Regions from separate parts of the Homo sapiens genome. Here regions 1, 2, 4, 5, 6 and 7 are each linked to region 3. The links are contacts of gene promoters, found by promoter capture Hi-C in blood cells and fetal thymus (Javierre and others, 2016). All regions are on one chromosome and are shown on one strand. Each heading gives the region's core, a stretch centred on a gene start or on the middle of the fragment in contact. The rest is flanking DNA. Distances are from core to core; before and after follow the strand shown. Region 1 overlaps PPFIBP1 (PPFIB scaffold protein 1). Region 2 overlaps PPFIBP1 (PPFIB scaffold protein 1). Region 3 holds the start of TM7SF3 (transmembrane 7 superfamily member 3). Region 4 has its middle 21 kb from the start of BHLHE41. Region 5 overlaps REP15 (RAB15 effector protein). Region 6 holds the start of KLHL42 (kelch like family member 42). Region 7 has its middle 4.3 kb from the start of BHLHE41.

Region 1 (3,612 bases), core at 85-2,584, 520 kb after region 3:
CATCTGAACAATACAAACTGACACATTTGCCAGAATGTGTCTCGAGGCAGGAAGTTGGTTTATTGAAGTGGAAAGTAGTGGTTATAAAAAAAAAAAAGAGAATGAAATTAGACAAAGGGAAACTTGACTGTCTTTGAAGGAGGAATTTTTAGACAACCAGACTTGATGGTTCACAGGCCAACTTCTTGGGGGAAACCTGAGCTCTGAGTGGTGAGAGACAACTGGTTTTGGAGCCCACAGCTAGGGTTTGGTTAAAACAGATACATCAAAGCACCAGGAAATACTCTGTAGAAAGGAGTTGTCCAACAGAGACAGCACTGGATTAAATTCTCCTCCTGATAAGGTGGTCTCTGATCTTCAGTTTACTTATTTCTAGAAAGATCTTTAGTTGAAAAGACATAGGCTTGTGGCATTTCAGCAGATTTGTTGTGGTAATGACATTAGGGGTATGTGAGAAAAGGATTGAAGAATGCAATGATTAAGAATGTGGTACTGAAAACCACTACCCCATCAGTCCATTGGTGGGTCTTATGGTGGTTGCTTTGAAAGATGTCAGTAAAGGCTTGTTCAAGTGTGTACAGTATAAATTGATAGGCATAATATTCTTGAGTTCAATGGTTTTCAGCTGGGCCAACTATAGAATCCGTGGAGCCTGTTGCAAAATGAAAATGTGTGACCCCTTATTCAAAAGGCAAGAAAAAAGTGCTGTTAAAGGTACTAAAATATGAAGCTTCTTTCCTTTCTCATACAGTTTTTTTCTCTTGACTTGTCATAGTATTGGCTACTTGTCATTCTATGTGAAGAAAAATTAAAAATTAAAATTACAGCATGAATTCAATTTAAAAATTAAAAAACTAAGCAGTGAAGTTTTTAGCATGAATTTACTCTTCATCTTTTTATTATACAATGTTGTTTTTGTTGTTGTTGTTGTTTGTTTTGTTTTGTTTTGTTTTTTGAGACAGGATCTCACTCTGTCACCCAAGCTACAGCGAGGTGGTGTGGTCACGGCTCATTGCAGCTTCTACTTTCTGGGCTCAGGTGATCCTCCCCCTCAGCTTCCCAAGTAGCTGGAACTACAGATGCGTGCCTGGCAATTTTTTTTTGTAGAGACAGGATCTCACCATGTTGCTCAGGCTGGTCTTGAAATCCTGGACTCGAGCAATCCTCTTGCCTTGGCTTCCCAAGATGCTGGTATTGCAGGCGTGAGCCACTGCGCCCAGTGCAATGCTGGCTTTAAATGAAAATATAGAGCATTGAACTCATATGCAGAATTACTGAAGTTGTCGACGCATATGTATATTGTTATGAGAACAGTAGAAACACTGCACAAAACTAAACTACTTTTATTTCACTTCTTGACATGTGCACATTCTACTGACACCTACCTACCTTTGGCTTATGATGTGTAATGAAAGACTGAAAGGAGAAGCAACTATGAGTTGCCTTATCTTTCCTTTTCCTTTTGTGCCGTCATTTTCAGCATAAGTGGTTGGCTAATATGGTTAAGTAACATGAGAAAGAGATAAAACGCTAAGCCTCCTTGGTCATTTGTGTTTCTTAGAAAGACATTTCTGTATGCAATCAAGTTCTGGTTCAAATGGAAGTCATTGCCTCTTTGGGCAGTCAGCACCCACCTGCCTGCTTACTCAGTTGTATTGGTAACACACTTACCTTGCACTCGCTTGAAGTCTTGCTGAACTCCCACGCACCAGGAGTTCACGGGAATTCTGAGCTCATGGTGCATTGGGAAAACTGTGTGAATAGAGAGGCCAGGAATGGTGGCTGTACATATTACGTCGTATGTTAGGCTGTTTTGCATTGCTATATAGGAAAACTAGGACTGGATAATTTATGAAGAAAAAAGGTTTATTTGGCTCACGGTTCTGCAGGCTGTACGTGAAGCATAGTGCCAGCATCTGCTTCTGGCGAGGCCCCCAGGAAGCTTCCGATCATGGCAGAAGGCAAGGGGAACCAGCTTGTCACACGGTGAGATAGGGAGCAAGAGAGACAGAAGGGAGAGGCCCCAGACTCTTAAACAACCAGATCTCCCATGAACGAATTGAGCAAGATTCACCAAGGGGAATGGCGCTAAACCATTCATGAGGGATCCGCCCCCACGATCCAGTCACCTCCCACCAGGCCCCACCCCCAACAGTGGGAATCTCATTTCAACATGCGATTTGGAGGGGCCAAACATCCAAATCATATCACATCGTTCTCCTCTGCTCACTTGTGGGCTCCATTGTCCCATTGGACCTGACTTACAAAACGCAAATTCAAAATTATTATCATTCTCAAGATGGTGACAGTAGAGTATTAAACCAACTGTGGGTCTTTTCTGAGCATGGGGTCCTGTGTTACTGCCCAGGTCACAGGTCCATGAAGATGTCTCAGAAGTCAAAGAGCTCACTTTTGAGGCTAAGTTTCCCTTGGTCCTAACGTCTCAGCTTCATTATTAAAGTTTGCAATGTAACAGGTTTGTGGGTGGTAGCCTAGGGGACTCTCTTCTGGTCATCAGCAAGGTCATTTTTGCCTTTCAATAATTTTTTAATCACTCTTCATTCCCCCTACCAGTATATCTGGGTTCGCATCCTCCTTCTCTCTGATACAGACCTTGCCGTTGTCTCCTACTGGAGCCCTGCAGGTAGTCCCTTCTCTCTCTCTTTTTTTTTTGAGACGGAGTCTCTCACGGTCACCTAGGCTGGAGTGCAATGGTGTGATCTCAGCTCACTACAACCTCTGCCTCCCTGGTTCAAGTGATTCTCCTGCCTCAGCCTCCTGAGTAGCTGGGATTACAGATGCCTGCCACCACGTCCAGCTAATTTTTTGTGTTTTTAGTAGAGATGGGGTTTCACTATGTTGGCCAGGCTGGTCTCAAACTCCTGACCTCGTGATCCGCCGGCCTCGGCCTCCCAAAGTGCTGGGATTACAGACGTGAGCCACCGCGCCCGGCCCCCCGTTTCCTTATTCTGCACCTTACTGCCAGACAAATTTTCCAAGTAAGTTTGGTTCCAGGCCACCCTGCCTACTCCAAAGCTTTCTTTGACCTCCTGTGAGCCATGGCTTACAGCAGAGTTCTCATCCTGTGTTCCCGGGGTGGAGACTGCATGGAGACAGGGTTGGTTTGGCCTGCGTGTTATTAATAAAGAAGTTTCAGCCAACACTTGCTTTGGGAGGGTTTACTTACTGAAATTCACCTATTGAAATTCAGATTTTAAAAAGAGGTCTGGCCACTGTGGGCTCTTGTTTCCTTGTCCTGCGCTGGTGCCTTAAAGAACAAGATGGACTGGGCATGGGGAGAAAGATGCCCAGTCCATCTTGTTCTTGGGTTTACTCTTAAGGCAGAGTGATTCTTTGCTGTGGCAAAATCTTCACTTTTAGCTATGTAAATGGAAAGCAGGTATCTGGCTATTCTTAAGAATGGTGTGAAGCAACCTGAATGTTGATCTTTTAGTCTGAGAAATTAAATTCCCCGTTCATAACGGAAATTGGGTGTATGCTTTGTAGCAGCCTTTGGTTGCTTTTTTTAGGAGAAATATTTCTTAAGTCTCGCCTGGCTATTATTACCACTGTATCATCTTGTGACCTCATCTGATCTTGACCTTTCTCCAA
Region 2 (4,014 bases), core at 708-3,207, 640 kb after region 3:
ATCTGTTAAATTATAATAGGAGCTTCTAAGTAGGACATCCTTAGAAACTCAGAAGTTGGATCTGATGGCTGAAATATCTAACTTGAAGTTGAAACTGACAGCTGTAGAGAAGGACAGATTGGATTATGAAGATAAGTTCAGAGACACAGAGGTGAGTGATACAGTCTCTCCTCCCTCTCTCTCTCTCTCTGTCACTCTGTCTTTGTCTCTGACACACATACATTCCTAGGGCAAAGTTGAAATTCCCTGGAGGTGTGCAAGGAAGGCAGTTAATTACTACGTACCATCATCCTACTTCATTTTAAGAATAATCTTTCATTGCATTGACTTTTTATCACTAGATGCTAATGGCAATTTTTATTTTTAGACTTTTGATATGAAGTATTAATCTTTTTATTAACCTTTAGAAATACTTTTGACTTTACGATATTTGGAGCATCCGTCCATCCATACTGTTTTTCTTAATTTTGTAAATAATGGGCTTAAATACATGGTTTCACTAGTAGTTATTATTTAGGCACACTGATTATTTACTATGTAATTGGATTTTGAAAATCTGTATAGAAAACATGCTAACATTCTATACTCACAAAATCACAGACAGAGCTTTTTTGAGGTCTTTTAATTTGGCATTCTACTTTTGGTCTGTTCCACATGTAAATCATTCCAATTAAATAAGACTCACTGTACTTCTACAAAAATCAGGGTACATTCTGTAACTTGAAGTATCCATTTTAGTGGCTTAACAAGCTTTATTGTTTGTTCTATTTTGTTAATTCAGGCCTCCTAGTTTGTTTGCTTTGTGACATTTGGCAAGTTCTTAACCTCTCTGTTGGTTTTTGATGGAGACAGAGAGCATATCCATTTGAAACATACATTTGAAATGAAGTATAAAGAGTTGCAGAAATTTCTTTTCTCTGAGAGCCATCTCCCCTCCTTTTTGCTTCCTATTTTGTTTCCTTGGTTGGAGTATGGAAGGGTGTCATGCTGGATTAGAAAATGGGTACCAAGGAGAGAGGAGAGAAAATGGTTTACTTATTTTTCCCTTCTGTTTTTATTTCAATCATGTATTTCACGCTGACTATAAGCCAGCATGATACCAGGCATTACATACATTATCCACCATAGGAAAGTTCTTTATATTGGAAATAACAAGTTTTACTCCACTGCTATTTTCAAAATTAAATTTTCTGTCAAAGATTCAATTACAGTGGAAAGTCTTGGTATATGTCTTGCTTCCTCCATAGCAAAAGGAAGTCTTTCATTTGGTTCATGTTTTAATCTTTTTTTTTTTTTTTAAGAGATAGGATCTTACTGTGTTGCCCAGGCTAGTATGGAACTCCTGGCCTCAAGCAATTCTCCCATTTTGGCCTCCCAAAAGCACTGAGGTTACAGGCATGAGTCACCATGCCCAGCCATGTTTTAATTTTAAAACTCTTTGTCAGTTGCCTGTGTGAGCATGTTTCTCATTTGATAGAAGCTGGGGCTCTTAAAACAGGACTTAGAAAGTTACCCAATTTAAAATTCTTGGTTTTGTATTTTCTCTAAAAATCTCTTTGATATTTTCCTCTTTCCCCTCTTTTTGTCAGGTCCTAACCCCATAGTCGCAGGGTAAAGTAATAGTAAAACTCAGTCAACAGATGGGCAACATGGCAGTGGAGCTAGCTCTGCTGCAGGGAAGAATTGATGGTAGATATGGATAGAGGTGGTCTTCTACATTGCGTCCACAAAGTCAAGGGGAAATATTCACCTGTTGTTAACTTAATTTGTATATGAGATGTTAACCAAATGTTGGGGCTAAATTGCAGTAGATGTGTTACTTATTGTTGTAAGCGCCTAGGGTAATATTTATATCCCTTGAGTTTGGCTGCTTTTTTTAATCAAATCTCTTTTCCCCACTTTTTCATTGTTTCACTCATGCACTCTCAATCACATACAAAGTGATCTTGTCATCAAACTTCCTGTACACTCAATCCCTGATAATCTAATAAAAATTCAGTGTTATTTCTAAAACGTATGCACAGACCCGGAGATTAGAGCATATGTGGTAAACTTTGTGATGTTACATATGAAAATAATTAAAATAATCTTCAACATTAAACTAACTTGAATATTCTCATGTTCTTGTTATCGTCCCCTTAATAAAAATATTTTTCTGGGTGTTTCATGAATCCATAATATTTAACTTTCTCTTAGAATTTTAGATTTATATTTGGATATTAATTTCCAAGAAAATATTGGCATGGGGAAGAAGTATAGGCATTTCCAAAGGACTGAGGGTACAAGTCTTTAAACTTTGGAAGATTCAGGACTTGTCCCTGGAATTGCTAATGGGAGATGATTAGCATCATTCAACAGTGCCCCCTTGTGGTAAGAGCATACATGTCAGAGACTGAGTTCCTGCAGGAGCCCTGAATTCTCTGAAAGGGAAAAGAGAAAGGGAACAGGAATTTTCTTTTTTAAAAGGACTGAACTTCTGATAAGAAATTGATTGAAATAGTTTGTATTCTGTTTTTTAAAGTTTTACATTAGGGAGCCATTTCCAGATTTTCCAGCTTGTGTTGTCAGGGGAAGATGTGATTTATTTCAGGTTGGAAATTTAGACCATATTTAAAGTATTGCCATGAAATATAGTTGAGTAGTTTTTTGTTAAAACAGATAAATTATCCCAGTTTACAATTCCATTTTTTTCAGTGGTTTCTTCTTTGCACGAGCAAAGAAGAAAGGAAGCTGTAAAATACAATAGCAGATAAGAATTCAATGGTATTTCTTAGCAATGAGAAAGTAGGAAAATATATATTTAGAAAGATCATATTGATGAATATCACTAAGGACTCATATTATGCAAGGATGATTAGCTTAGATAACTGGGAAAAGCTGATTTTTTTCTTTAGACTTGAATTCTGACCTGTTAGTTGAGGAATCACAAATATGTTGCTGAATAATGTCAAACAGTTCATGACCTAATTCATAAGAAGAAAATAGATATCATCTAAGTGAAATATTGTGCCATTATTAAGGTGTAATTGTATAACTATGATAGGTAATATTTTGCCCCATTTTATAAGAGACCACAATTTAAAAGCCTAAGGGTTTACTGGGAAGTGTTATTTTATTGTAGCATCCCTTCTCTTAGCCTTTGTGAACTTGAATCATTACACTTGGAAGCTTAAAATAATTTCTATTTACAAAGTTTTATTTCATATAGCATTGTTCTACTTGTAATTTTTGGCATTCGTGGATAATTTTGTCCTGTAGTCTATGAATTTGTGATGCAGGAATACATGCATGTCTTTGTAAAAAGAGAGAAGCTGGCCGGGCACAGTGGCTCACATCTGTAATCCCAACACTTAGGGAGTCCGAGGAGGGCGGGTCACTTGAGGTCAGGAGTTCAAGACCAGCCAGGTCAACATGGTAAAACCCCCGTCTCTACTAAAAATACAAAAATTATCTGGGCATGGTGGTGGGTGCCTGTAATCCCATCTACTGGGGAGGCTGATGCAAGAGAATCACTTGAACCCTGGAGGCGAAGGTCGCGGTGAGCTGAGATGGCGGCACTGCACTCCAGCCTGGGTGACAGAGTGAGACTCCATCTTAAAAAAAAAAAAAAAAAAAAAAGGAGAGGGAGAGAGAAGCAAAAATATAGTAACCATTGTAGGGATCTTTGTGGCTTGTAGTAAAATAAGTCATCTCCCATGCAGGGTATTTGAGTGTCTCTTTTGGAGGAGTTAATATTGCTTAACACTCTAATTTCCTTTCCTACTCTCTGGGCTCTTGGACAAGTTTTGTGAGCAAATTGGTCCTTTAAAAAGTAGCACTAAAATAAAGTGGCAGTAGAAAAGGTGCAGAATTGTGTTGTGTCATATAAACACTAGGATTGGTTTCTCTTTCATTTTCTAATGATAAAATTAGGTGAACTGCAGGGCCCTCATCCACTTTCCAGTTGAAAATTGTCATTAAACTTACAGTAAACTCAATCCCTGATAATCTCCTAATAAAAATTCAACACTATTG
Region 3 (4,054 bases), core at 270-2,769:
GCGGGCGCCTGTAATCCCAGCTACTCTGGAGGCTGAGGCAGGAGAATTGCTTGAACCCGGGTGTCGGAGGTTGCAGTCAGCCAAGATCATGCCACTGCACTCCAGCCTAGGCGACAGAGCGAGACTCCGTCAAAAAAAAAAAAAAAAAAAGTCACCTGAAATCATCAAAAATGGTGTACTCATAGGGAGCCAAGCCCGGGCATGTTGCTTCTTGGCTCCCACAGGTGAATTTGAAGTGGCAATAGAACTTCGTTGATTCTTGTTTTTCTCATTTTAGTTTTACTCTCTATTAAATTGTTATTTTTTACAGTTCATTTATGGATGACAAGTTATTTCCTGTTGGTAGCTGCAATGATTGGGAATTTTGTGATCTCTGTAAACGAATTAATATCTCATAGAGATCTATTTCCTGTTGGATATGAGACAACAGAGAACACAGTTTTTGTCCATTTGTCTTTTTTAAGGTCAAATCGATTAGAAATTTCTTGCCCTCAAGTAAGGAGAACAACTCTGATACCTGGACTGGCAAGCTTTTGTGTTTCTGTGTTTATTTTTCATTTGTGGCTGAACTTGTAGAATTGAGGGTATACACATTCTATCTGTATGTCTATGTATCTGTAATTCAGAAAGTCCTTTATTTCTCATTGTGAGTATGGAATGTTTTCCTGTCTCCAGATGGTATTAATAAATTAGATGGTAAAGGCTCTTTAAAAATAAAGCCTCATTATGGGTTCATTTTCCCTCTCAAACTCTGTAGAACATAACCAGTTTGAAAAGCCTCTAGATTTGGGGGTGTAAAAATTCCATGCAGCTTGAGAGCCATCAGTCATTAAGCCGCTAGTTCCACCCCAAGTCTTGCTGTCCAGAAGCTCAGACAGTCCACTGGGCAGCAAAGAGGCGCTTTAGTAAGTTGAATTAAAGCCACAAACATGGCTGCTCCCTAAGGGAGATAATACTGTGTTAAAAAAAGAGAATTATTTATCTCTTCCCATTTCCTCCGCTAAATGAGGAGGTTAATAGTAAGACCTCCTTAGCCATGAGTGTTTCCGCTGCAGGAAACACCATTCGTGCCGGTTCTGGACTCACCACCCAGCGTGTACCAACGCCCCCAGCACCATCTCCCTGCTAGGCTGACAGACCCCTGGCGGATTTTGACCTCGCAAGAAATGCAAAAGCAACTTTGGGTTGCAGAAGCCAGGCGCCCCGACCTTACCCTCGCTGGAATTCCCGAAGACCTCGGCTGCACCAGCCACCCGGTGTTCGGATGCCAGCACCGCTACGACCAGCAGCTGCAGGAACCCCATTGCTGCCTGGGCCGGGCTGGGCCCACGCCAGGGCTGGGGAGAGGTGCGGGCGTGCGCGCCGGGGCCCCGCAGCCTCGCCCACGCTATCCCGGGGCGCCCGCATCGGGCGCCATCGCCCGCCAGGTGCAGACGCTTCGCACCTGCCAGCTCCGCAGCCGCCGGCGCGCGCCCCGCCGAACTCCTAGCCCCAGCGAGAGGTTTCCTCTTCCGGCACCTGACCCCCAACGCGCGTTCCCGCGCCTCCTCCCGGGCTCTCGCTGCGTCACAGCGGCGGGTCTCTGGGCGCGGGCGGCGCTGGGGCGTTTCCAGGCAGCGCGCGCCTCCTGCCGGCGCGCGGGGAACGCGCAGCCTGCGGTGCTCCCGGGAGCCCCCAGGAAGTCCTGGCTTGAGGCCCGGTCTTGCCCCACTTTTATCTCACCAAGTAGGCAAACCCACTGTGAAAGTACAAAATAACTTTCTGTTGCGGACTAACGTCGCCAGGCTCCTGTTTCCGTGTTTAACGGCCCTTTACAACAGCAAAAAAGAGGAATCAGTTGCTAAAAACACAATTGAAGGTTATTTCCCCCGGTAGCAATTGTCTTCGCTGCTGAGGCTTATGTTAGCATAAAAATGCCAGGAGAATGCTGTTTGTGTAGTGGTTACCGCACTAGTCATAAGCACTACATTTAAAAGTAGTTTCGTTTTCTCTAAGCGAAATATCCTCGAAGACACGGCCTTGGTCTGAACTTCGTCTCAAGTCTCATACCTGAGTGCTGTTTGAGGGACAGTAGTCCATGTGACAGATGGCTCATCGATGATGTGGAATTAGACGCATAGACTTAACGTTATTTGGGGAGGATTGTCTTGCTTTCCTTCCCTGGTTTTAATTTTTTTCACTTATATATTTTGATGAGCAACTTATAGCTTGGAAATTACATGTTCAGTTAGTCCACTACTAAGCTAACAATATATAGCTGTGACCATAATGTGAAGAAGTGTTAAAGACAAAATTATTCAATGATACTTGTTAAAGCACCGAACGAAGACTATTGAGGACTGTCTCAATTGGCATAGGGACCACTGCAACTGGGTCTTGCAGTGGGGAAGAGGGACTGGGCTCAACTCCGAATACAGCGTGGGCAAGAGGGAATTTATAGCCAACCAGCAGTATGGAGTTCAGTGGATGGAAAATTACTAAGAGGAAGCATCAGAGGTAAGGGGCATTTGGTGAAACTGACCTAACAGGACTTCTGAAGACATAACATCACCTGGGGGATGGTGCAGGGTGAGAAAACTGATTAGATATGGAGGAAAGGGGGTTCTTTGCTAAAACTGGATTTTTACAAAGAAGTGCACAGATGGACCTAGCAGAAGATTCAGAAGCCGTACTAGAGTTTGGCCAAGCAAATAATCTTTGTCATAGGCACAATTCTTTCTCTGCTTTCCCACTGCCTGGTCCAAATTTTCACACCTTTGGTAGCACTATCTATTTCTGTAGTGCTTATTCACTCTCCCACATGCCCCTATTCCTATAACCCTCAGTAGATGAAATCCAAGGAAGATGAAAGGGACAATTATGATAAGGGTAGCATCTGAATCAGTGGATGGATTATTCAATAAATTGTGTTCTTAACTGATTAGCTGCACTATGGGCAGAGAGAAGCAGAACTCTATCTCACACTAATTGTGAAAACAAAATCCCAAAGTAATAAAACCATAAAAGAGCTAGCAGAAGAGGGCGCTCTTTTTTTTTTTTAATAAATTGATCTCAAAATGGGAGGAGCTTTCTAAGAAGCAAAACAGCAAAGGAAACAACCATAAAGGAAAAGATTGGTAGACTTGGCTACGTAAATGCTTTTTACATAAATATTTAAATTTTATTAAAGTAAACACACAAACAATATGAAAAGGCAAGTTGACCAAAAAAAAAAAATTAGCAAAGGACATGAATGGGGAATTTCACCCCAAAAAAGAAATACAAATTACCAGTAAATACATGAAAAAAGTTCAATCTCACTAGTAAACAAATAAAAAAATCAAATTAACAAACTAAGATGTAAACATTTTAAAAGTATAAAACATCCAGTGTGGATAAAAGAGCTAAGAAGGAGGCATTCTTAGGTAGGGATACTGGGAATATACACTTTAATAAAGTAATCGGCATCAAAAATGTTTAAAAATCTTATTTTTGTAGATTTGGTATAATCCACTTTTAGATTTAAGTACATAATTAAATACACATATAAAAATTAGTATAAGCTGGGGGAAGTGGTATGCGCCTGTAGTCCCAGATACTCAGGGGGCTGAGGCAGGAGGATTACTTGAGCCCAGGAGTTCAAGAGGGCAGTGCTGTATGATTGCACCTGTGAATAGCCACTGCCCTCCAGCCTGGGCAACATAGTGAGACCCCATCTCTTAAAAAAAAATAGTGTACAGAACTATTCATAGAGTATTATTTAGAGTAGCAGAAACATCTAAAACAACCTAAATGCCCAACAATTAGGAGTTAAATAACCTATGATAGAGCTTTATAAGAGGATCCTGTGCAGCCCTTCATTTATATTCTGATTGAAGTCTTTATGAAAAGGCAAGTTATGATGCAATAAGTATATATAGTACGTGGCTTTTTTTTTTTTTTAACATACATCTTTTATTGACTCAGAGGAATGGATACTTTTGTTGTTTGTTTGTTTTTTTAAATGGAGTCTTGTTCTGTCCCCCAGGCTAGAGTGCAGTGGTGCAATCTTGGCTCACTGCAACCTCTGCCTCCC
Region 4 (4,033 bases), core at 1,033-3,532, 910 kb before region 3:
AAATTAACATGTCAAGTGTACTTAGCTGCACTTGGAAATCCGTCCAGGTTTAATAAGCAAATACTACTGGTCCAAAGAGGAGATCACAGGATGAGAATCTTCCATCCTTTATGTTATAGACTGAATGTTTGTGCCCCCTACCCCCAAATTCATATATTGAAATCAAATCCCCAATGTGATGGTATTTGGACGTGGGTCCTTTGGGAGCTAATAAGGTCATAAGGGTAGAACCCTCATGAATGGGATTCGTGCTCTGATAAGAAGCCCCAGAGAGCTAGTGAACCCTCTTATTGCCATATGAGGATACAGTGAGAAGTCAGCTGTCTGCAACTGGAAGAGGGCCTTCACGAAGAACCCCAGCCAGCTGACACTCTCATTTTGGACTTCCAAACTCTGGAACTGTGAAAAATAAGTATTCGTTGTTTAAGCCATCCAGTTTATGGTATTTCGCTATAGCCGCCAGAGCTGAATAAAATATTCCCGGAGGACAGACATCTCTGCATTTTGGGGAGAATGTTATTTGCAGTTTTATTCCACTATTTTTATCTAATAGCCTGTTGCTTATTATGGATTTCAGCAGGTCTGATGATGAGAGGGTGGCTGAATGTCTAGGAAATTGTGCAGTGTAAGAAAGGAAATAACTCGTATAGATCTCTGCCAAAGTTTATTCCGCTGTTGGTCCTGAGACACTGGGTTGCCTAGTATCATAACACTGGCCAGGCATCACGAGGAAGCTATGAGCACTCGGTTGATGTCTGCAGTCACACGGAGGCCTCAGTTACTAAAGAAAGAGGAGTGTTACTGAGATCAGTTACTTCACACCCATTTTACCACATCTCCTCACCCACAGGGTACTGAATGTATCTATCTAGGAGACTGTATTTTCAGTTATAAAACATGATAAAATGTTTCATCAATTCATCCCTTTGGGCTCACTTTTAAATTTTGTTTAAGTTTTTCTGTTAATTTACTATAAATGTTTAATAAATTAAGAGTATATTATTCTCATGAGCTAACACTTCCTCCAAACTATTTTCAACCAATGAATTAAAGGATAATGGAATGCTTTTATCGGGTACATAATAAATGGTCAATGCCACCAAATGTTACCAATTTCCAATATTAGAGACATAAAAAATGTAGAAAGGCTGTTCATTTTATGAGGGGATGGTTGAGTGAATTAATTTTAAAAATATTTACTGGATGCTAGACACGGTGGTAGGTACTGGGGGTACTTAAATTAATAATTAGCCAGGACCCAATGCCCACCCTACATCAATTTCAAGAACAGGAACAATAAATGTAAATACATCAGAAGTATTCAACTTGGGGACTTTCAGGAGAATACAAAAATAGAAATAAGGAGACATTCTTTTCATCCTATTCTGGTTCAATTACTTTGTTCTCTGTACAAGCTGGAGAGCACATATTCTCCCATCATGAGAGAAAGGGTGGCGGTCATTCAACCCAAACCAATCACATGTGCTTTGGGCAGAAACTGTCAATATTAAGGCAAATCACATCCAGTTTATCACAGACTCAGTTAAAATAGAAGGAAAATATTCCCTGAAATATGGTCTCTGATGCTTGGTAACAGTGCTTTGGAGCTTGACAGATGTAGAGACAGCCAATCACCTTTACATCTGCCAAAATATCTATTCTCCAAAGCCAGAAAGATAAAACGCCTAAAACCACAATGTGAAGAGTTGAATATTGAAAATTCCATATGTTTTGCAGGTTGATGCTAAATCCTATGAGAAAAACCAGCACATCGGGGCTCTTGTAACCAACTTTCAGGAAAGGAATCCTAATCTCCGAGAGGCAGGTATAAGAAAGATTACTGTTTATAAAGGAGTATGGCCATGCTGACCTTCAAAGTGGGCAGAGCCACAGCAAGCCACCTCATCAGGTCTGATAACCATGTCCTGGAAATGGGTGATTTGGAGATGGCTGGTAGGGCCAACTATATAAGAGTTGGCCTTATTGGTGAAGTAGCCAAACAAATGAGGATGCTTCAAAACTACCATTCGAGTGAACGGAGTTGGGCAGTGGGGGACAGGATTTAGGGCTGAGCACCTAATTTCTCAATCAGATAAAGGGCAAGGTGGTTCTCCTCCTCCCAGCTTGGGTAGGAAGTGCAATCAGTCCGATTTCACAACAGAGAAGGCAAATCCTCCTATGCTGATGTCTTCTCCTAAAATCTATTCCTTGCTCACTCTATCATAGGCACACTGGCCTCCTGACTGTCCCTTGGTTGTGCTGTGCATGCTCCTAGCAAGGGCCTTTGCACTTGCTGTTCTCTGTGCCTGGCACACTCTTCCCCCTGATTTCCTCATGGCCCCCTTTCTCACCTCCTTCAAGACTTTCCTACTATCTCAGTGAGGCCTAGTGTATTCATTTTTTATTGCAGCCATAACAATCACAACTTACTGGCTTAGTATATATAGGGTGAATTCCCATATACACTTCATGTGGCATAAGACAATACAGATTCATTTTCTTATAATTCTGTAGGTCAGAGAGTCAAAGTGAGTCATATCAAACTAAAATCAAGATGATTCTAAAATCGAAGAGGACAGTCTGTGTTCCCTTCTAAGGGCTCTAGGGGAGGCTCCCTTGTAGGACGGAGGTCCCTGTTTCCTTGCTGTCAGCTGAAGGCTGCTCCTGGCTTCTGGAGACTTCCTGCATTCCTTAGTGCTGGCCCCCGGCCTCCACCTTCAAAGCCAGATATGTGGAGTTCTTCTTCCTTCTTTAAATGTTATGAATGGCATTTATTTAGTAACACTGACATTGGTATTAAAATGGGACTACACATTTAAAAAAATCACTGTATTATAAAAATGTCATAAATTTCTCTGGACTCTAAAATTGAAATAAAATTCATAAACACATATCCTCATTTCTCTAGAGATGGATGCGTCTTATGTAGGTAGAAAGAAAATGAAATGGCTAATATGTACCCAGTTTTAAAGGGTATCTAAGGAAAGGTATATTAAGGACACTCAGTTTTTAATTTGGGCTATAATTTTTTTTTGTTTTTTGAGACAGAGTCTTGTTCTGTCACCCAGGATGGAGTGAAGTGGCGCGATCTTGGCTCACTGCAACCTCTGCCTCCCGGGTTCAAGTGATTCTCCTGCCTCAGCCTCCTGAGTAGCTGGGATTACAGGTGCTCACCATCACGCCCAGCTAATTTTTGTATTTTTAGTAAAGATGGGGTTTCACGACGTTGGCCAGGCTGGTCTCGAACTCCTGACCTCAAGTGATCCGCCCGCCTTGGCCTCTCAAAGTGCTGGGATTACAGGCGTGAGCCACAGCACCTGGCCAATTTGGGTTATAAATTGTGAGTGAGAAAATCACAGAGGTGACATGCCCTTGCATCACTTAATATAAATGGGTACATGATATCCACCTGACTTATCACTAGTGATATTAACCATGATCACTTGGTTAATATCACTTGTTTAAGGTGGTGTCTGTCAACTTTCTCCACCGTAAAGTTACTATTTTTTTCCCTACTCTAATCTTTAGAAATGAATCATTAAGTCCAGTCCACACTGAAGGGGATGCTTTATTTATTCCTTATTTGAAAAAATTTTTTTTAACTTACAGAAAAGTTACAAAAATCCTACAATGAATTCCCATATACACTTCATCTAGATTCACCACTGATAACATTTTCCATATGTGGTTTATCAAGATCTCTCCTGCTCCCTCTACAAATATACATATTATTGCTATTCATATGACTATTTGAACTGAAACATTTGAGAGTAAATTGAAGACATCATAACCTTTTGTCCCATATACTTCATCATGTATACCCTAAGAACAAGCAATTCTTTCATCTTCATAGTACAATGACCAATTTCAGGAAATTTAATATTAATATAATGCTATTATCCAATATAGAGACCAGCACTTCCACTTCTGTCTCTGATGGAGTATCTGGGACTAGTCCTCTTGCCTTAACTGTAAAACTGGATGAAATATCAAAGGCAAGTGTTTTCAGACATTGGCGAACAAGCAATACGAG
Region 5 (3,891 bases), core at 68-2,567, 680 kb after region 3:
AAACCCTGGCTCTGCCTATGATTTAAAAACAGTTCAGGAAAAGTTATAATTTAGTTTAATATTTCATTCACTTATTCAATAATAAAAATGGAAGAGAGATAATAAAGTCACATTTAAAGTTTGATTTGCAAAAAAAAAGTGTCTGTTTGAAATAATAAGTCTAGCACTCAAAAGTATAAAATGTGTTTTTGCATCTGTTGGTGGGAGATGGGTAGGATAAAGTAGTGGGTAAGGCTACAGAGCAGGTTTAATTACATTTGTAATGCCAGTTTCAAGCCAGGCACAGTGGCTTATGCCTATGGTCTCAGCTACTCAGTAGGCTGAGGTGGGAGGATCGCTTGAGCCCAGGAGTTTAAGGCTACAGTGAGCTGTGATTGCACCACTGTGCTCTAGCCTGGGCAACAGAGTGAATCCTCATCTTTAAAAAAAAAAAAATAGTTTGGGTTCAGGACTCCTGCACAAAACTCACAGCGTTCTTTTCCTCTAACACTTACCTTATTCTGTCTTCTCCCTAGCTGCTGTCTCTGCACTGAGAGGACTTTGATGGGATTTACTTTGAGATTCACTTTAGTGTTAGCTCTGCCTATGATTTAAAAACAGTGACCTATAAAACTATTCCTTTTAATAATACTTGTTTAGCCTTTGCAGTAAGGAAGGTGTATTCACATATAATAACCATTTTTACTTAAAAGCCAGTGTGGAATTATAACAGTACAAAAAGGAATCACCATTATTTATTGCACTTGTAAGTCAAGTCAGATGCTTTACATATATTAGCGTGATTTGCATGTGTCTTCCATGACTCTAAGAGGTTTCTATTTGCCAAATCAAAGAGGCTAGATAACTCATAAATCTATTAAGTGGCTTGTAACAAAAAAGTAAAGTCTGCCCAGTTACAAAGCCCATATTCTACAGTCGTGTAAAGAAAATTCCCTGTAAGCCTATAAATTAGGTTAAGTAAAAATCAATTAAAAAAAAAAGAAGAAGAAAAGAAAATTCTTTGGCCAGGAAGAGTAGCTGTGATCCCAACACTTTGGGAGTCTGAGGCAGGAGGATTGCTTGAGCCCAGGAATTCAAGACCAGCCTGGACAACATGGTGAAACCCCATCTCTACAAAAAATACAAAAAGTCATGGTGATGTGTGCCTGTAGTCCCAGCTACTTGGGAGGCTGAGGTAGGGGGACTGCTTGGGTCCGGGAGGTCAAGGTTGCAGTGAGTCGTGATCGTGCCACTGCCCTCCAGCCTAGGCAACAGAGCAAGACCCCATCTCAATAAATACATAAAAAGAAAATTCTCTGATTTTAAACTACTGGAATTGCTGAGACAACAAAGGTGTTCACCTGCAAAAATGCTAGCTGGTTACTGTTGCTCATTTTTCCTCCATTTCCTGGCCTTAATCTGTGGCTACTTTTCCTGTTGTTGAACCACCTGTTCACTGATACGCAGCCATTAGAAACATGGGCTGAATCCTTTCAACTGCATCCAACCTCTTAAAATCGTTTCTGTTTCTGACAGTCTTCTTATGGCCTTGGCCTTTTCTGTATTTTGGAATTTAGGGCATGTTCCTGTGAGGCTGAATTAAGACATATGAGCGCAATGTGGCGTCATGCAGGTATTCCATAGTAAGAAATACATTTGTTGCTGTGATCTGTATAACTGAAGCATGTTGCAGTGCACTCTGATAGTTTGTCCTACATCGGTTTGTAAAATGCTGACTGCAAGCCACCAAATTGATATCATGACCAGCAATAGGCCACAATGCAGAGTCGTAAAAACTTTGTCATGGTAGAAGGAGTGAGAGCTTTCGAGTTTAGTTGAGGACAAACCTGCTTAAAATCCCAGCTCTTTTATTTACACGTATCCAACCAAACCTCTGTGCTGGTTATTCTCATTTCAACCTCCACATCTACTCCCCACCTTGTCTGCCTTCTTCTGGGCTCTAACTGCATCACTCTGGCTTCCATCCAGTGGAGAGCACGAGATCAGAAAGGGGACAGGTCTGGAATGTATTAGCCCAACTTTCCCTGCCTCACTACGATGCTTGGTTCCAGACAGCTCCTGTCCAGCTGGCCCTTCTCTGAGACTCCAGCTCCCTCCCCTTCCCCTCTCAGGCCATTGTCCCTTCCGGGGTGCTTCATCATTCTTTGTTAGTTCCTTGCACCCTGCCCCCACCCTGTAGATGTACTTTTTCCTTAGGTAGACTTGAGGGTGCCATTTGATTTCTTCTGTAGCCCTAATGCCTCCTGATTTTCCTATCTAAAAACCGGAGATGACAATACCCACCTCGTAGAACTGCTATTCGTTATAGAATTAAGAATAGCCAAGCGCGGTGGCTCACACCTGTAATCCCGGCACTTTGGGAGGCTGAGGCAGGCAGATCACGAGGTCAGGAGTTCAAGACTAACCTGACCAACATGGTGAAACCCCATCTCTACTAAAAACACAAAAATTAGCCGTGGCACATGCCTGTAATCCCAGCTACTCAGGAGGCTGAGGCAGGAGAATCACTTGAACCCGGGAAGTGGAGGTTGGAGTGAGCTAAGATGGCGCCACTGCACTCCAGCCTGGGTGACAAAGAGAGACTCCGTCTCAAAAAAAAAAAAAAAGAAAAAAGAAAAAAAAATCAAAAGTGCTTAGTACGATAATCCAGATCCACTCTTTGATTCTTTATCCAGCCCAGTAAACAGGATCCACAGTGAATCTAAAGGCGCGTCATTAACTTCAATCTAGATTTAGGCTTAAGTGCATGCCCTGTTTTCTTTCCATTGAGCCTGGTGTTCTTCAAATTAAAATACGCCTTGCAACATTGGGGAACACCAACCCCCAAATCCCTTCTCTTCAACTTTATCTCCCAAAGAAGTCCTGGGGGAAAGCGAGGAAAGGAGCATTCATAATCCCCATGATGCCTGCAGCTTCAGGAAAGAAGAAAGGGATGTATATTCTCTTCAGCCTCAAGAAATGGCTTTGTTTTCCCTCCCGTCAATGTTTATTCACCCCCATAGCCCTCTCCTTGAGGAACCTGGAATAGGAAGAACATATCTGTGGCCTTGTAGTTGTCCTTCATTAGAAGCTGGCATGAAAGAGTGTTTAATAAAATGGAGTATTGATATACACAATTACTTGTCAATTAAAAAGGACTTTTTTAAAAGAAGGTGAGTATTGGCAGAGACATCTGTTTCTTCTTTTTGGTAGTGAAGTCTCCAATAGCATAGAGTCAAGCTTAGCTTTTGCAATTTGGGTTAATATATTGCCAAAAAAAAAAAAAAGGCTTAAAAGTGTAAATGGAAGATAGATTCATTCAAACATAATTGCTGAGTGCCTATTACATGTCGGGCTTGTTCTGTGCCCTGCCAATCTAGCAGTACAAAGAACAAAGTTCCTAGTCTCAGGGAGTTTATATCTTAATGGTGGAAGACAGACAAACACGTGCAGATGTTTAAATGCATATTTTCAAAACATCTCACGCCTGTAGTAATCCCAGCACTTTGGGAGGCTGAGGCCGGCGGATCACTTGAGTTCAGGAATTTGGAACCAGCCTGGACAACATGATGAAACCCTGTCTCTACTAAAAATACAAAAATTAGCCTGGTGTGGTGGTGTGTGCCTGTAGTCCCAGCTACTTGGGAGGCTGAGGTGGGAAGATCGCTTGAGCCCAGGAGGAGGAGGTTACAGTGAGCCCAGAACCAGCCACTGCACTCCAGCCTGGGCAACAGTGAGACCCTGTCTCAAACAATAATCAATTTTAAATTACATCATGAGTAATGTAAAGAAAAAGCATGATCAGGGAATAAAGAATGTTAGGAGGTGCTATTTTATATTGGGTGGTGAAGGAAGGCCTCAGCGAGGAGGGGGCAATTAGCTAGAAATCTGAAGGAAGACACTGAGCATCAG
Region 6 (3,465 bases), core at 280-2,779, 770 kb after region 3:
CCTCCCAATCCTTCTCCCTTCTCCTACCCAAAGATAATCCAAACAATATATTTCTCCCCCCACCCCCTTCCTGGGATGAATTCATTAGCAAGACAAAAAGTCCTTCCTATTATTATTTGGGGTGGGCCTTCTAATTGCAATGTTCAGTGAGAGAACATAGGAAACAAGTGGTCTCTCTTTTCCGAGACGGCGTCTCGCTCTGTCGCCCAGGCTGGAGTGCAGTGGCGCGATCTCGGCTCACTGCAACCTCCGCCTCCCGGGTTCCAGCAATTCTCCTGCCTCAGCCTCCCGAGTAGCTGGGATCACAGGCGCGTGCCACCACGCCCGGCTAATTTTTGTATTTTTAGTAGAGACGGGGTTTCACCATGTTGGCCATGGTGCTCTCGAACTCCTGACCTCGTGATCTGCCCACCTGGGCTTCCCAAAGTCATGGGATTACAGGCGTGAGCCACCGCGCTCAGCCAAACCGCACGTGTGGTCTCTCTTAATAGTCCTCAGATGATGGGGGCAGGGTAGGTGGAGAAAGGGGGTGACAAGAAAAGCTACTTCTTGCAGACATTTATGAGCCAATTTTGTCAGATCTTTTGCGCCAGGATAACATTCCGTAATGGACTGGACTGAAGTAGAAAAGCAATGGCTCATAGAAAACATGGTTTAAAACCAGAAGCCACGTGATGTAACTTTATTTAGTCGGGCTGCGCTTTCATCTTTCTTTTAATAACTTAGGGAGAATAAGGGGCCCCAGTGGCAAATGCAAGCTCCCCTGCCTCCCAACCCGATTCCTCTGAGAACCTGCTGCCATCTGCCTGGACCTCCTGTAAGATGGCTCCTACGCGACCACGCTACCAGAGAATCAGCTCTACGTGCCACCAACATTGCCACCAACTGTCCATAGATCGCCTGCGTGCCTCAGCCCACTGACACTCGATGCCGGACTGGGCCAGAAGGACGACCCCATATTTGATGCCTTTTTGTCTCCCTGGACCAGAGACTCCATCCTTCCCTTTCCTCCCACGCTCATTTCTTTTTCTTTAGCCCGTGTAAAGCAGCGTGGGAGAGAAAACGAATTTCTTCTCCCTGGGGTACCCCGGAGCATCACTGCAGCCCCCAACAAGCGGCGGAGCCGGCGCGCCCCGGGCGGGCGGAGAGGCTGCGGGGACGCGCGCCCTCCGCCTCCCGCAGCTGCGCGTCCGCAGCCGAGGCGCCCGGGCCCGCAGCTTCCCGGGCCTCCCCGAGAGCCGGATCCAGCCGGCAGGTCAGGCCGGCGGCTGGGGTCCCGCGGGCGGAAGTGAGAAGGGCGGCGGGGGAGGAGGCTGCTGGCTGGGAGCTGGAATTCCCTTCCCGCCTGGCGCCGCCCGGGAGAGCCCGCGCGAGGACGCCCGCCGCGCTCCGCCGGCCCTTTTTTGGCGCTGAGGGAAAGGAGAAGGGCAGGGCCGCCGCCTCGCGGGAGCGGGCCCCGGGAGGAGGGGCCGCCGGAGAGGCCGGGCGAGCGCGGGCGGCCCTCACCTCGCCGCTCCTCCCGGGCCGCCATCCCTCGGCGCCCCGCCCGGAACCGGCGCGCGCGTAGGGGCTGGGAGGCCGGCGCGCAGATCTGGCGGTGAGCGCTGCCGCCCCGGGGCCCCCAGCCATGTCGGCCGAGGAGATGGTGCAGATCCGCCTGGAGGACCGCTGCTACCCGGTGAGCAAGAGGAAGCTCATCGAGCAGAGCGACTACTTCCGCGCCCTCTACCGCTCCGGCATGCGCGAGGCCCTGAGCCAGGAGGCCGGCGGCCCGGAGGTGCAGCAGCTGCGCGGCCTCAGCGCGCCGGGCCTGCGGCTGGTGCTGGACTTCATCAACGCCGGCGGGGCCCGCGAAGGCTGGCTCCTGGGCCCGCGCGGGGAAAAGGGCGGCGGGGTGGACGAGGACGAGGAGATGGATGAGGTGAGCCTGCTGTCCGAGCTGGTGGAGGCGGCCTCCTTCCTGCAGGTCACGTCCCTGCTGCAGCTGCTGCTGTCCCAGGTGCGGCTCAATAACTGCCTGGAGATGTACCGCCTGGCGCAGGTGTACGGGCTGCCCGACCTGCAGGAGGCCTGCCTGCGCTTCATGGTCGTCCACTTCCACGAGGTGCTGTGCAAGCCCCAGTTCCACCTCCTGGGGTCTCCTCCCCAAGCTCCAGGGGATGTCAGCCTGAAGCAGAGGCTGAGGGAGGCCCGGATGACTGGGACTCCTGTCCTCGTGGCCCTCGGGGACTTCCTGGGGGGACCCCTGGCCCCTCACCCCTACCAGGGGGAGCCCCCGTCCATGCTCAGGTACGAGGAGATGACTGAGCGTTGGTTCCCGCTGGCCAACAACCTTCCTCCCGACCTGGTCAATGTCAGGGGCTATGGGTCTGCCATCCTGGACAACTACCTCTTCATAGTGGGCGGGTACAGGATCACTAGCCAGGAGATCTCCGCTGCGCATTCCTACAACCCCAGCACCAACGAGTGGCTCCAGGTGGCCTCCATGAACCAGAAGAGGTAAGCACCCCGGCAGAGTGCTGCTGCCTTCTCATTCATTCACTTGTTCATTAGTTCATTACCCCAGTGTTTACTGAGCCAGTAAATAGGGGAGGGTGTGCTGTGGTGGAAATGACATCTTCAGGAATGTTGTTGGCCTTGGCGCTGGCAAAATTCCCAATGAACTAAGAAATTGCGAAGAGGACGTCCCCAGTGAGGTCAAGAAGTGGAGTGGTTTTTTGGCAGGTATTGTGCCTTTAGGTGAAACTGCTTTCTTTGCCTCTGTTCTTGTGAAAAAAGATGTTGTGGTTTCCTACAAGAATACTTTAAAAGAAAATTGCCCCTTAATTTTTAAAAAATTTGTCTTAGTTTTTAGGATTTGATCCTGATGATAATGATACACTGGACAGTAACCTGTAACACTGACTTTGGGGGATTTTTTTCTGATGTCAGTGACTGTGACAACAGAGTCTTCCACACTGTGATACCCATCATGATCAAGAGATAATCACTGGAAATGTATTAACGTTTGCAATAGGGGTTGCTTTTCTTATTTTTTATCCTCTCTTTTGCTTCCTTCCCTGGACAGCCATCGTCATGACCCACAGCTTGAGCCTGGAAGTGTTCAACTACAGAATTGGAATATTTTCATTTACGCAACCTTCTCCCCCTCCCATCCTGCAAATCTCTCCTGCCTCCAACAAGGGTGACTTGAAGAAAGGAAGAGGAGGAGCTTGAGGAGTGGGATGAGAGGGGAGAAGGGAAAGGAACCAGGGAAGGAATATCAAAACAAGAGCAAAGAGCATATACAGGAAGAGATGGTAGGAAATAAAGATGGTAGCGCCTAGGAGGCCTCAGCGTCATTCAGAAGCAGGGAAAAGAATCAATGTAACTCAAGAAAGGATGAAAATACCCTTTCTTCCCATCCACGTGTTTCCATCTCAATCCTCACAGGGTCCTGGTCCTGAAGTGTGGAGCAAGGAGTTG
Region 7 (3,611 bases), core at 259-2,758, 890 kb before region 3:
AAATGGGGTCTTTTCCCAATTTTTATCTCCTTTGTTGTTCTTGATCCCCTTTTCCTCTTCTTTTCTGTCTTTCCTTTACATATTCACCTTTTAACTCATGTTTCCCTTTTTCATTTCTTCTTTATCTTCCTTTCCCTTATGTTCTCTGTCTACCTTTTCCCTGTTAAATGCCAGCTTTTGCCATTTCTCTGTAGTTCTGTCAATCTCCTGTTTGCTTTTTGCCCTTTTTTTTCTTTGATCTTTCACCCTGGTGACTCTTCTTGGTTACCCACTTCCCTTAAACTTGAATCCCATTCCTGTTCTTTCTCAAACTCTTGGCTTCTGGAATATTGGGCATAGTTTGATGCCTCTGAATATCCCTTTGCGCAAGAAGGGTGTAACAATAGCTAACAACTATATAGCCTTTAAGATTAGAGTACCAGACTGCATTCAAAGAGCTTTTTATGTATTAAGTCATTAATCATTTCCACAACCCTCTAAGGTAGATACTATTATTGTTTCCATTCTACAGATGAGAAAATGCTTACAAAGTGAGATTGCAAAATATTTCCAAGGTCCCAGAGCCAGGATTTAAGCCCAGACAGTGGGTTCGAGAGTCTGGACCCTGGACGACTCTTACACCTCAATGTGAATAGTGAGTGGTAAGGTATAAGTGTTAACTAGCTGCTTCAGGGATGTTTTTCTATTTACCAGTATAAGTGTGCACATTTGTGTGTGTGTGTGAATGAAATTGTGTGGGGAGTTTTGCAAGAGAGATGGAAAAGGGAGAGGTGTTAGCATTGGAGCTGATGACAGAGATAAGAAAAGCTATGGCAAGAAGAGAGGCAGTCTTTTGCCATGTCAGTGAGTCATTCAGTTGGCATCTAGCTTCAAATTTATTGATTTAAATCCAAATATCCTAATTAACTCTTATAATTTTGTACAGATGGACAGATGGAAGTACAGTTTAGAAAAGGCTGATGGTGACCAGCTGTTCACCAGCTCTGCTGAGCAAACTGAGCCAAGCTCTAATGTGAAGACTTCAGGTTAGTAATAGGAAAAGTTCACCTGTGGTGAGGTTAGAAAGGGAAAAAAAGTACGCTAACAAAGGAACAGAAACTAGAATGCCATCTTTGGATATGTTTTAAAATAGGTTGAGTCTTATCTTTTTAGGAAAGCTTAATGCTATCCTGCTGAAAGCCAAGAAGATACAAGATGAGCTCAAAGCCCCTTTGAGCTTATAATTAAAGAATTTTGTGATGCTTTGCTTTCAATTAAAGATATCCATCTTTCTCCTTTTAATAGGCGAGGGGTAGCTGCTTCCATTGCTTTTCTTTGGTTAAGTAAGGAAATCATTACCTATAGAGACACTAATGAAAGGAAATACTTAGGCCAATTCTCCCCCCTGCCTAAATATCCTAAGTCCTGCACTCATTATATTCACCCTGTGACTTTAGAAGGCCTTATCCTGTTTGCAAAGTCTTGGATTTCCAACAGAAACAGAACTTGCCTGAAAGGATTAAAGTTTCCATGGGGAATAGAGGTTTTCTGCCTCTTTAGGGTTCTGCAAGCCCTACTGCCCTTCTGGAGAATTAACTCCAGGGTGTTTTAGGAACCCAAGTGTGATCCAAACTAACTGTACATCTCTGATGGCCCCAAAATCTGCTTAGGGGCGTAGAGTCTCCTGCCTGTGATACTGTGAAAATGGCCCATCTGAAGGGCAGAAGCCATTCTTGATCACCTCTGTTTTACAGAGCGGACAAGAATCTGCAGACGTTTTACATCAAAGTTAAGCAGAGTCCAAAACAATCTAAAAAAGTTTTGGGTTGATGCTAAAATCAAGGCCTGGAGGGGATAGCGGGGTGGGATCTGGACTTACAAAAGCTTCCCTAGGAATTTCGGCTCTTGGCATGCACACCTACTCTCAAGGGAGAAGAGTTAATGTTGTCAGGCACACCACAGAAAGAAGGGTGCCTCAGAGAAGGATTTAAGGAGGGACGGCAATTCCACTGCTACTCACCAGAAGCCAGTATGACTTTAAAATATTGATGATGTTATTTGCTGAAAGTACCGGATTTTAAATGCCAGAATAGAAGATTGGGTTTTCCAGTTGCATACTCAGCAAATGAGCAGAAACAGCACACGTGTCCCCGTTTAATTTGTAAAGGACCTTAAGTCTTTCTGAAGACTATCAATTAATGTGTCTGTAGCCATAAACATACCTATGAACCATGTTTTACATTTATGTAACACTGCTCAAGAAGTTTATGCACTTATTAGTCTTTGCATAGCTTCAAGGAGCAGATAATATTGAGTATTAGAAATAAATTTTATTTCTGCTGAAATCATTTGTATTTTCATATTTATGTGATGATCAAAACCATTCATGCAGGCTGTTCTGCATTTCACGTGTGCTCAAAATTCCTGGAGTTCTTAACATACAAAAGACAACTAGGAGAGAGCCAAGCCCAAAGACCACAATAGGAGGATTCCCTGGCCCTTCTGCCCCTACGTATCTGCCTGGTCCCTCATGGTGCCCATGTGCTTCTCATACTGATTGAGGTGGATCCATAATGAGACCGGAAAAGTAGCATGAGGAGGAGATGACAACCCCATTAAGGACTTTCACAAAGTGTTCTCTACCATTTCTCTGGAGTCTGGACTAGTTGGATGGTGGAAGTCTGCAGGAAGAGGGGCCTTTTAATGTCTGTGTTTCCTTTGTTACTGCTGATGAAAATTCTTGGAAAAATCTTCCAAGAAAAACATGTTTATGCAATGTGAAGCACATTCAAATATAAATAAGATGCACTAAATGTCCACTTCTCTCACCCACCCACTATGGGCTTCATACGGTCCTTACATCAATTGTCAGATGGTGTCCTCCTGGTGCAGAGAGTTGTCAGTAACAGATATTTCTTCTGACTTCAAAGGTACTCCTACTTTAAAAAAACAACAACAGAAAACTAGCTAAGGAGGGTTAAATCCAGACTTACAATCAAAACTATTGGTATAAAACTTTTTATTTAATAGCTAAAGCGAAAAATCATATATAACAATTACCCAACAAGTACTATGGTTCTGGTATTAACTTATAATCATCATTAGTAAGGAAACTGACTGAAATCCAGGCTGTGTATATTAGTTAAGGTCTGCATTTCAGCCAAAATAACAGCAACTGAAATTAGGAAGTTCTTTTTTGGTCACATAAAAGAAGTCTGAAGGTAAGCAGTCCAGGGGTAACGTGAAGTGGTAAAAGTGCCATCAGTGTCCCACACTTCTGCTTTTCCACTCTCCACCAGCGTCTATCTGCAAGATCACCCCATGGTCAGAAGATGGCTGCAGGAACTCCTGCAGGGAAGGATGAAAGGGTGCCTGCCAACTGAGCAAGGTCTCTTAAGGAGCTTTTTTTTTTTTGCAAGCTCCACCCATCTCATTGTCCAATCCCATTACAAGAGGTTACAAATGTAGTTTTCAAAGCTGAGGCTCCACAGCAATATAGGGGTTCTTTTAGTAAAGGGGAAGTGGAGACTAGATACTGGGTTGGCACTAGCCATCTCTGCAGTGATGTGACTAAAAGGAAATGGCTTGTCCACGTCCTCTTCTTTTTTCATCAGTGAGTCTCTTCCCCTCTA

Evidence for each region. The method cuts DNA at HindIII sites, captures the fragments that hold promoters and counts their contacts. A CHiCAGO score of 5 or more calls a contact.
Region 1: a contact is called between a fragment that was not itself captured here and the fragment with the promoter of TM7SF3 in region 3, in 1 of 17 cell types (activated CD4 T cells). The highest score is 5.6, in activated CD4 T cells.
Region 2: a fragment that was not itself captured here is called in contact with the fragment with the promoter of TM7SF3 in region 3 in 1 of 17 cell types (megakaryocytes); the score reaches 5.9 in megakaryocytes.
Region 4: a contact is called between a fragment that was not itself captured here and the fragment with the promoter of TM7SF3 in region 3, in 1 of 17 cell types (fetal thymus). The highest score is 6.6, in fetal thymus.
Region 5: a contact is called between a fragment that was not itself captured here and the fragment with the promoter of TM7SF3 in region 3, in 1 of 17 cell types (M0 macrophages). The highest score is 6.5, in M0 macrophages.
Region 6: the fragment with the promoter of KLHL42 here is called in contact with the fragment with the promoter of TM7SF3 in region 3 in 1 of 17 cell types (activated CD4 T cells); the score reaches 5.1 in activated CD4 T cells.
Region 7: a fragment that was not itself captured here is called in contact with the fragment with the promoter of TM7SF3 in region 3 in 1 of 17 cell types (fetal thymus); the score reaches 5.9 in fetal thymus.

What each region holds. Positions count from the first base shown.
Region 1 is chr12:27,534,477-27,538,088 of GRCh38, forward strand. The region is part of intron 1 of PPFIBP1 (PPFIB scaffold protein 1); the gene reads left to right. Among named protein-coding and RNA genes, the nearest start is that of PPFIBP1, 12 kb to the left of the region's middle. RefSeq lists an enhancer at 107-156. The HindIII fragment of the contact is 1,212 bases long and covers 729-1,940 here.
Region 2 is chr12:27,649,991-27,654,004 of GRCh38, forward strand. PPFIBP1 (PPFIB scaffold protein 1) reads left to right here. Exons shown (of 30, transcript NM_003622.4): 7 at 20-151. Among named protein-coding and RNA genes, the nearest start is that of REP15, 44 kb to the right of the region's middle. The HindIII fragment of the contact is 2,418 bases long and covers 749-3,166 here.
Region 3 is chr12:27,012,865-27,016,918 of GRCh38, forward strand. TM7SF3 (transmembrane 7 superfamily member 3) reads right to left here and starts at 1,520. Exons shown (of 12, transcript NM_016551.3): 1 at 1,214-1,520. The coding sequence starts at 1,304. RefSeq lists a silencer at 1,213-1,712. The HindIII fragment of the contact is 5,016 bases long and covers 529-4,054 here.
Region 4 is chr12:26,102,430-26,106,462 of GRCh38, forward strand. No RefSeq gene overlaps it. Among named protein-coding and RNA genes, the nearest start is that of BHLHE41, 21 kb to the right of the region's middle. The HindIII fragment of the contact is 4,994 bases long and covers 1-4,033 here.
Region 5 is chr12:27,697,459-27,701,349 of GRCh38, forward strand. REP15 (RAB15 effector protein) reads left to right here. Exons shown (of 1, transcript NM_001029874.3): 1 at 1-138. All of the region lies in intron 3 of MRPS35-DT (MRPS35 divergent transcript), which reads right to left. Among named protein-coding and RNA genes, the nearest start is that of REP15, 3.0 kb to the left of the region's middle. The HindIII fragment of the contact is 3,800 bases long and covers 1-3,217 here.
Region 6 is chr12:27,778,704-27,782,168 of GRCh38, forward strand. KLHL42 (kelch like family member 42) reads left to right here and starts at 1,530. Exons shown (of 3, transcript NM_020782.2): 1 at 1,530-2,499. The coding sequence starts at 1,628. It overlaps MANSC4 (MANSC domain containing 4), which reads right to left and starts at 1,533. Exons shown (of 4, transcript NM_001146221.5): 1 at 1,507-1,533. RefSeq lists silencers at 1,132-1,351, 1,372-1,681 and an enhancer at 1,547-2,046. The HindIII fragment of the contact is 8,648 bases long and covers 1-3,465 here.
Region 7 is chr12:26,127,518-26,131,128 of GRCh38, forward strand. It overlaps a transcript of SSPN not described here. Among named protein-coding and RNA genes, the nearest start is that of BHLHE41, 4.3 kb to the left of the region's middle. The HindIII fragment of the contact is 706 bases long and covers 1,156-1,861 here.